Regions from separate parts of the Homo sapiens genome. Here region 2 is linked to region 1. The links are contacts of gene promoters, found by promoter capture Hi-C in human tissues and cell types (Jung and others, 2019). All regions are on one chromosome and are shown on one strand. Each heading gives the region's core, a stretch centred on a gene start or on the middle of the fragment in contact. The rest is flanking DNA. Distances are from core to core; before and after follow the strand shown.

The links. Contacts are between HindIII fragments. The study calls those that stand out against the background at their distance.
Region 2: a contact is called between a fragment that was not itself captured here and the fragment with the promoter of GOT1L1 in region 1, in 3 of the 25 tissues and cell types used here (mesendoderm cells, spleen and thymus).

What each region holds. Positions count from the first base shown.
Region 1 is chr8:37,938,179-37,941,391 of GRCh38, forward strand. GOT1L1 (glutamic-oxaloacetic transaminase 1 like 1) reads right to left here and starts at 1,946. Exons shown (of 9, transcript NM_152413.3): 1 at 1,737-1,946; 2 at 522-703. The coding sequence starts at 1,851. RefSeq lists an enhancer at 1,452-1,968. The HindIII fragment of the contact is 11,209 bases long and covers 1-3,213 here.
Region 2 is chr8:37,863,444-37,866,358 of GRCh38, forward strand. All of the region lies in intron 5 of RAB11FIP1 (RAB11 family interacting protein 1), which reads right to left. Among named protein-coding and RNA genes, the nearest start is that of BRF2, 15 kb to the left of the region's middle. The HindIII fragment of the contact is 5,114 bases long and covers 1-2,915 here.

The DNA.
Region 1 (3,213 bases), core at 696-3,195:
CTGAGGCCAGGAGTTTGAGACCAGCCTGGCCAACATGGTGAAACCCTGTCTCTACAAAAAATACAAAAATTAGCTGGGCGTGATGGCACATGCCTGTGATTCCAGCTACTCAGGAGGATGCAGCACCAGAATTGCTTGAACCTGGGAGGTGGAGGTTGCAGTGAGCTGAGATGGCACCACTGCACTCTAGCCTGGGTGACAGAGTGAGACTCTGTCTCAAAAAATATATATAATAGGTTAAAAAATAAAACAGTAATGGGAATACTAACACCACCTCCAATTCAGATCATTCCTGTCTTGAAAGAGCTTTCAAATCAGCAGTGTGAGCAGGTGGGAATACCACTGGACTGAGATTCCGATCCTGACTCGATGGCTAAGGACTTGTGGACTCTCTGAGCCTCAGGTATCTCTTTTATCAATACCAGGGGGCCCTCCGAGGTCCCCTTCGGGTTTAAGGTTGTGCAGACCCAGATCGCCACTCTCTGTGTCTAAATGAGCCAGGGGAGGGCCCACCTTCTCACCCTGTTCTCCACAATGGCTTGGCTGTGCTTTCCAAAGAGGAGTGCTAGAGAGGCCTGGATGAATGATTTCAGGCCCATGGTGGGCAAGTACTCATAATTCAGGGAGGGATCCTGTGAAATCTGTAGTCGAGTCTTCTGCACCACGAGAGAAACCCAGGGATGGCCTTCATTTGTCATGCAGACTGTGAGGAAAACCACAGAGGGAGCTCCAGATGCCTGGTTTGGGCCCCCAGGGCTGAGCTCTGCAGACAGCCTGCAAACAAATCTCTCCTGGACTCCATGGGGCTGTGGGAAGGTGCCTGTGAAAATACAACTTTCCCTTTTCTTTTCTCCTTGATGAAAAGAATATGCTGTTAGTGAATGTGTATTATTTTTGTCTTTTTAAAAAAGACAACTGAAACCTATGCCATTTTAAAGGTTAAAAATTATACAAGCCCAGGATTGGTGGCTCAGGCCTGTAATCCCAGCACTTCGGGAGGCTAAGGTGGGTGGATCACTTGAGTTCAGGAGTTCAAGATCAGCCTGGGCAACATGATGAAACCCTGTCTCTACAAAAAAATACAAAACAGCCAGACATGGTGACCAGCGCCTGTAGTCCCAGCTACTCAGGAGGCTGAGGCAAGAGGATGGTTTGAGCCCAGGAGGCAAAGGTGGCAGTGAGCTGAGATCTTGCCACTGCACTTCAGCCTGGGCAACAGAGTGAGGCCCTGTCTCAAGAAAAAAAAAAAAAAAATATATATATATATATATATATATATATATATATATATATATGCAAAATGAGAGTTATAGGTAGATGAAGCTAAATAAAGGTAACCCTGACTTTCACAGTGGTGAGCCCCAGTTGCATAGCAGAAAGCTCAATCTGGAGAACCATTCTTGGTTCAAGAACAGGAAGAGAAAGAGAAAGAGAGAGAGAGGAGGTAAGAATCTGAAGAAGTGTGGGATGGCCATGCAGGCCCCCAAGCATAGAGTTGTGGAAGAGGACATAGCTCTCACCAAATCCCTAGAAGCCCCCAGAGAAGGGCAGAGAGCATGGAATGACCTGGGACCTTATCTGCACTTTTCCCCACTGGGTAATTCTGTTAACAAGAAAAGATCTCTCCACCCACAGAAGCTTGGGCTGCACCCCTCCCCCTGCAGCAGGGAACACTGTCCTCCTAGAGGCAGTTACCATCACTTAAGTCTTATACTTCAGAACTGCTAGGCATCTACCTCTATAGGCTAAGAATATCTTGTTCGGGTAATCATCTTGTTTGTAGGTCTTTAACAAGCTGCCCTCTAGCTTGTGGGCGAGGGGCACATCCATGAACACTGAAAGGGTGGGCATAACTGAAACGAAACTGGAGCCAAGACTATGTGTCTCTGCTCCTGTGTTCCGCTTCTGCCCAGAAGTCTTCCTCCAAGGCTGGGCCGGGCAGTCCTGCCTCTTCCTGGAACCTTGGCAGCCCCAGTGCAGAGGCGCTGGACAACGGGTTGCCAGGGCAACAGAACCTCATGATCTTTGTGGTGGCGATCCACAGGGGCCACAGGAACATTCCAGGGTACTTGAGGAGAATCCCCTCAGACAGCGGGCAGGGCAGGATAACAATCTCCGGAATTCCCAAGCCCGTTTCCCTCACTCAATGCCTTCTCTTCTCTAGCCCCAGGTGGCTCAGTCCAAAGTAACAAGCCCACTCCTTAGATGACAGGGCAAGGATAATGGGAGATTACTTAACAGATACAATGTACATTGTTGGGGTTATGGATACCCTAAAAGCCCTGACTTCACCACTATGCGATGTATGCATCTAACAAAATTACACTTGTACTTCACACATTTATACAAATTAAAAAAAAAAAAAAGAAAGAAAGACATAGGGCAAGGCAGGCAGCCAATAAGCCAGATAGGGCTTCTCCTGCAGAAGCAAAAACCCCAGATCACACACCAATGCAAGTCGAGGCATTGATTTCCATTTTGCAAAGTGCCCCAGATTTCAAAAGGAATAAAAAGCAAACACTGTTTTCTTCCACAGTTGTTTTAATAAAGAATCCTATTATTAGAATATAATTGGCAACTCACTAAGCCAGTCCTATTTCTCTCAGTTATCTAGAGCCAAGACTTCTACATATGTTTGTTAAGTTTCTTTTTCTTTCTTTTTTTGGTTTTTTTTTTTTTTGAGATGGAGTCTCACTTTGTCGATAGTCTCGAACTCCTTGCCTCAGGTGATCTGCCTGCCTTGGCCTCCCAAACTGCTGGGATTACAGGCATGAGCCACCACACCTGGCCATTTGTTAAGTTTCAATGACAGCCAACTAGTAAGTATAGACAGCAGAGGCCAAGGGGAGAAAAGAGCCAGCCTCTATAGAGTCAGTCTGCATATTGCTTGCTTTCTTTTCCTTTTGATGTTTAATGACTCTCTCTTTTTTTTTTTTTTTTTTTTTGAGACAGAGTCTCGCTCTTGCTGCCCACATTGGAGTGCAGTGGTGTGATCTCGGCTCACTGCAACCTCTGCTTCCCAGGTTCAAGAGATTCTCCTGCCTCAGCCTCCCGAGTAGCTGGGATTACAGGCATGCGCCACCACACCCAACTAATTTTGTATTTTTAGTAGAGAGGGGGATTTCTCCATGTTGATCAGGCTGGTCTCAAACTCCAGACCTCAGGTGATCTGCCCACCTGGGCCTCCCAAAGTGCTGGGATTACAGGCGTGAG
Region 2 (2,915 bases), core at 361-2,860, 75 kb before region 1:
CACCATGTTGGCCAGGCTGGTCTTGAACTCCTGACCCCAGGTGATCCGCCTGCCTCAGCCTCCCAAAGTGCTGGGATTACAGGCATGAGCCACCGTGCCCAGCCAGGGAATCCGTTTTCAATTTACAGTGAAAACAGGTTGTTGACTGATGAAGTCTTCTGGAAAGGGCCAGATAGCACATATTTGAGCCTTTGCGGGCCACAGACAGCCTTTGTTAACATGTTCTTCCTTGGTTTTTTGGTCTGTTTGTTTTGTTTTATTTTGTTGTATGAACTTTTAAAAATGTAAAAACCATACTTGCCTCACAGGTCGAGGACCTCTGGACTTGACTCTGGGTTTGGATTTTAAGCAGTGCCATCATGGGAGGACTCAGTTCTCCAAATGAGTGCTCACTCCTTTGGGAACACTAGGAGCTCACACAACCAAACACCAGTGCAGAGCTGGTGACGACTCCCAAGCCAGAGGGGGCCCAGGAAGACACAGCTGTGACAGCAAGTGCAGGGAGCAAGGGCTTTCTTTCCAGGGCAGCAGGTCGAGGTCCAGCCCAGACTGTCTGCTCCTGCCAAAGCTGCGCTCAGAAGGACTCAATGAGCAGGTGGATGCAGAGGACACCCAGGGACCCCACTTCACATCACTTCATACTCGAGAAATATGCGGAGTCAGAGCCAGGTGCCACCATGCCCCGTCCTCACCCGTGGCCGTCTAGGCACGCCCTTGGGTACACAGCGGCCTGTCCCAGAGCTGAGTGTTCCACTCCCGAGGAGAGCACACACCCTGCGGAGTCACTGTGCTTTATCAGCATTTATGATCTGGGGCCCCTGCAAGCCCAAGCAGCTTGAACCAGGAGGAGATGTAAGGTAAAGCTTAAATGAAAAGTCACATGCTGTGTAAGTCCCCAGTAAGGAAAAAAAAGTGACTTTTCCTGAAATCTGTAGCCTGAGATTTACATGTTTAAAGAATCAAGATGATTTTGCTGGCAGAGCTCTGAGGCAGGAATAGCTTTACTGCCCTGAGGGTCTAACGGTTTCACTGCCTACCAGGAAGGCCAAGAGACTACCTTCTCCAAGAATCAACACTAGTTCCTCAGTGACATGATAGGAGCCCCAGTTCAGTCAGTGACGCAAACTGCCTGGACACGAGCCAGAAGTCAAAGGAGGGATCCCAGCCCTCCCATCCTGGCTAGGAACAAAAGCAAGATGATGGCGGTACTAACTTAGACACACAACACCAACGTTTCCATAGACAGAGCGGGTTCAACCCCACACAGGCTGCACATTTAGAGGTGAGACACTGGACTGCTTTTCCAAAACCTGCTTCTCCCCTAATCTTTGTTTTTTAAAACTTTGAAGGCATGCATTCACGATGCACCTCCTCTGGACCTCAGTCACTGTAGATGTGACTTCCAAAACAATATTTCATTGAAAAGTCGCAAGTCTGGAAAAGAGCCCTAGCGATTGATTACACAACAATGTGAATGTACTTAATGCCTTTTTTTTTTTTTTTTCCCCATAGAGACGGGATCTCTCTATGTTGCCTGGACTGGTCTCAAACCCAAGCTCAAGTGATCCTCCCACCTTGGCCTCCCAAAATGCTGCGACTACAGGCATGAGCCACCACACCCAGCCTTACATTTTATATCAAGAAAAAAGAGTCACCTTTGTAAATAATGGCAAAGAATACGTCCTCAAGGGATTTTAGATTATATCTCTGTCATATAAGGATCTTATTTATTTATTTTTTAAAAGTCTCAATACATAAGATACTCTGCATGGAGTTTGAAAGAGAGAGGGATGCAGAGGCTGACACCTGTAGGGTGTCATATAATTAATTCCAACACCTAACATTTGGGTCTCTTTATTTTTCCTGGGATTCTTTTTTTTTTTTTTCTTTTTTTGAGACAGATTCTCACTGTGACACCCAGGCTGGAGTGCAGTGACACGATCTCGGCTCACTGCAACCTCTGCCTCCCAGGTTCAAGTGCTTCTCCTGCCTCAGCCTCCCGAGTAGCTGGGATTACAGGCACCTGCCACCACATCCAGCTAATTTTTGTATTTTTAGTAGAGACAGGGTTCCACCATGTTGGCCAGGCTGGTCTTGAACTCCTGACCTCAAGTGATCCACCTGCCTCAGCCTCCCAAAGTGCTGGGATTACAGGCATGAGCCACTGAGCCCGGCCTTCCTGGGGTTCTTGATGATATGTTTTATAATGTCAGCCTCATACAAAATAATAGTTTTACAGCTTTTTACTATTTAATAAGCATTTTTTCCATCATAACATTTTAGCAAAACTTGCTTTTCTAATGGATGCTTAAAATCTCATTATATTTTAACTATTCCTCTATTGCTGGATATTTATGTTGTTTTCAATTTGTACAATTATATATAACATTTTTATCAAAATGCACGAACATAAATCTTTGGCCATATCTCTAAGTACTTCCTTAAGATAAATGCCTAGAATTGAAAATGTGTACACACTTAAGGTACTTCATACGAACCGTCAAACAGCTATTTAATTTGGATTCTGTAATTGAAAGGGAAAAAGGATATAAAGGACTTGAAAATCATTAGAAGAGCCTAGTTTTGCAATATTTAAAAATTATAAAACAGGGCCAGGCATGGTGGCTCACATCTGTAATCCCAGCACTTTGGGAGGCTGAAGTGGGCGGATCATGAGGTCAGGAGTTTGAGACCAACCTGGCCAACATGGTGAAACCTCTTCTCTACTAAAAATACAAAAAATTATCCAGGCATGGTGGCGGGCACCTGTAGTCCCAGCTACTCGGGAGGCTGAGGCAGGAGAATCGCTTGAACTCGGGAGGCGGAGGTTGCAGTGAGCCAAGATCGTGCCACTGCACTCCAGCATGGGCAACAGTGCGAGACCCCATCTCAAAAAAAAAAAAAAATTATAAATA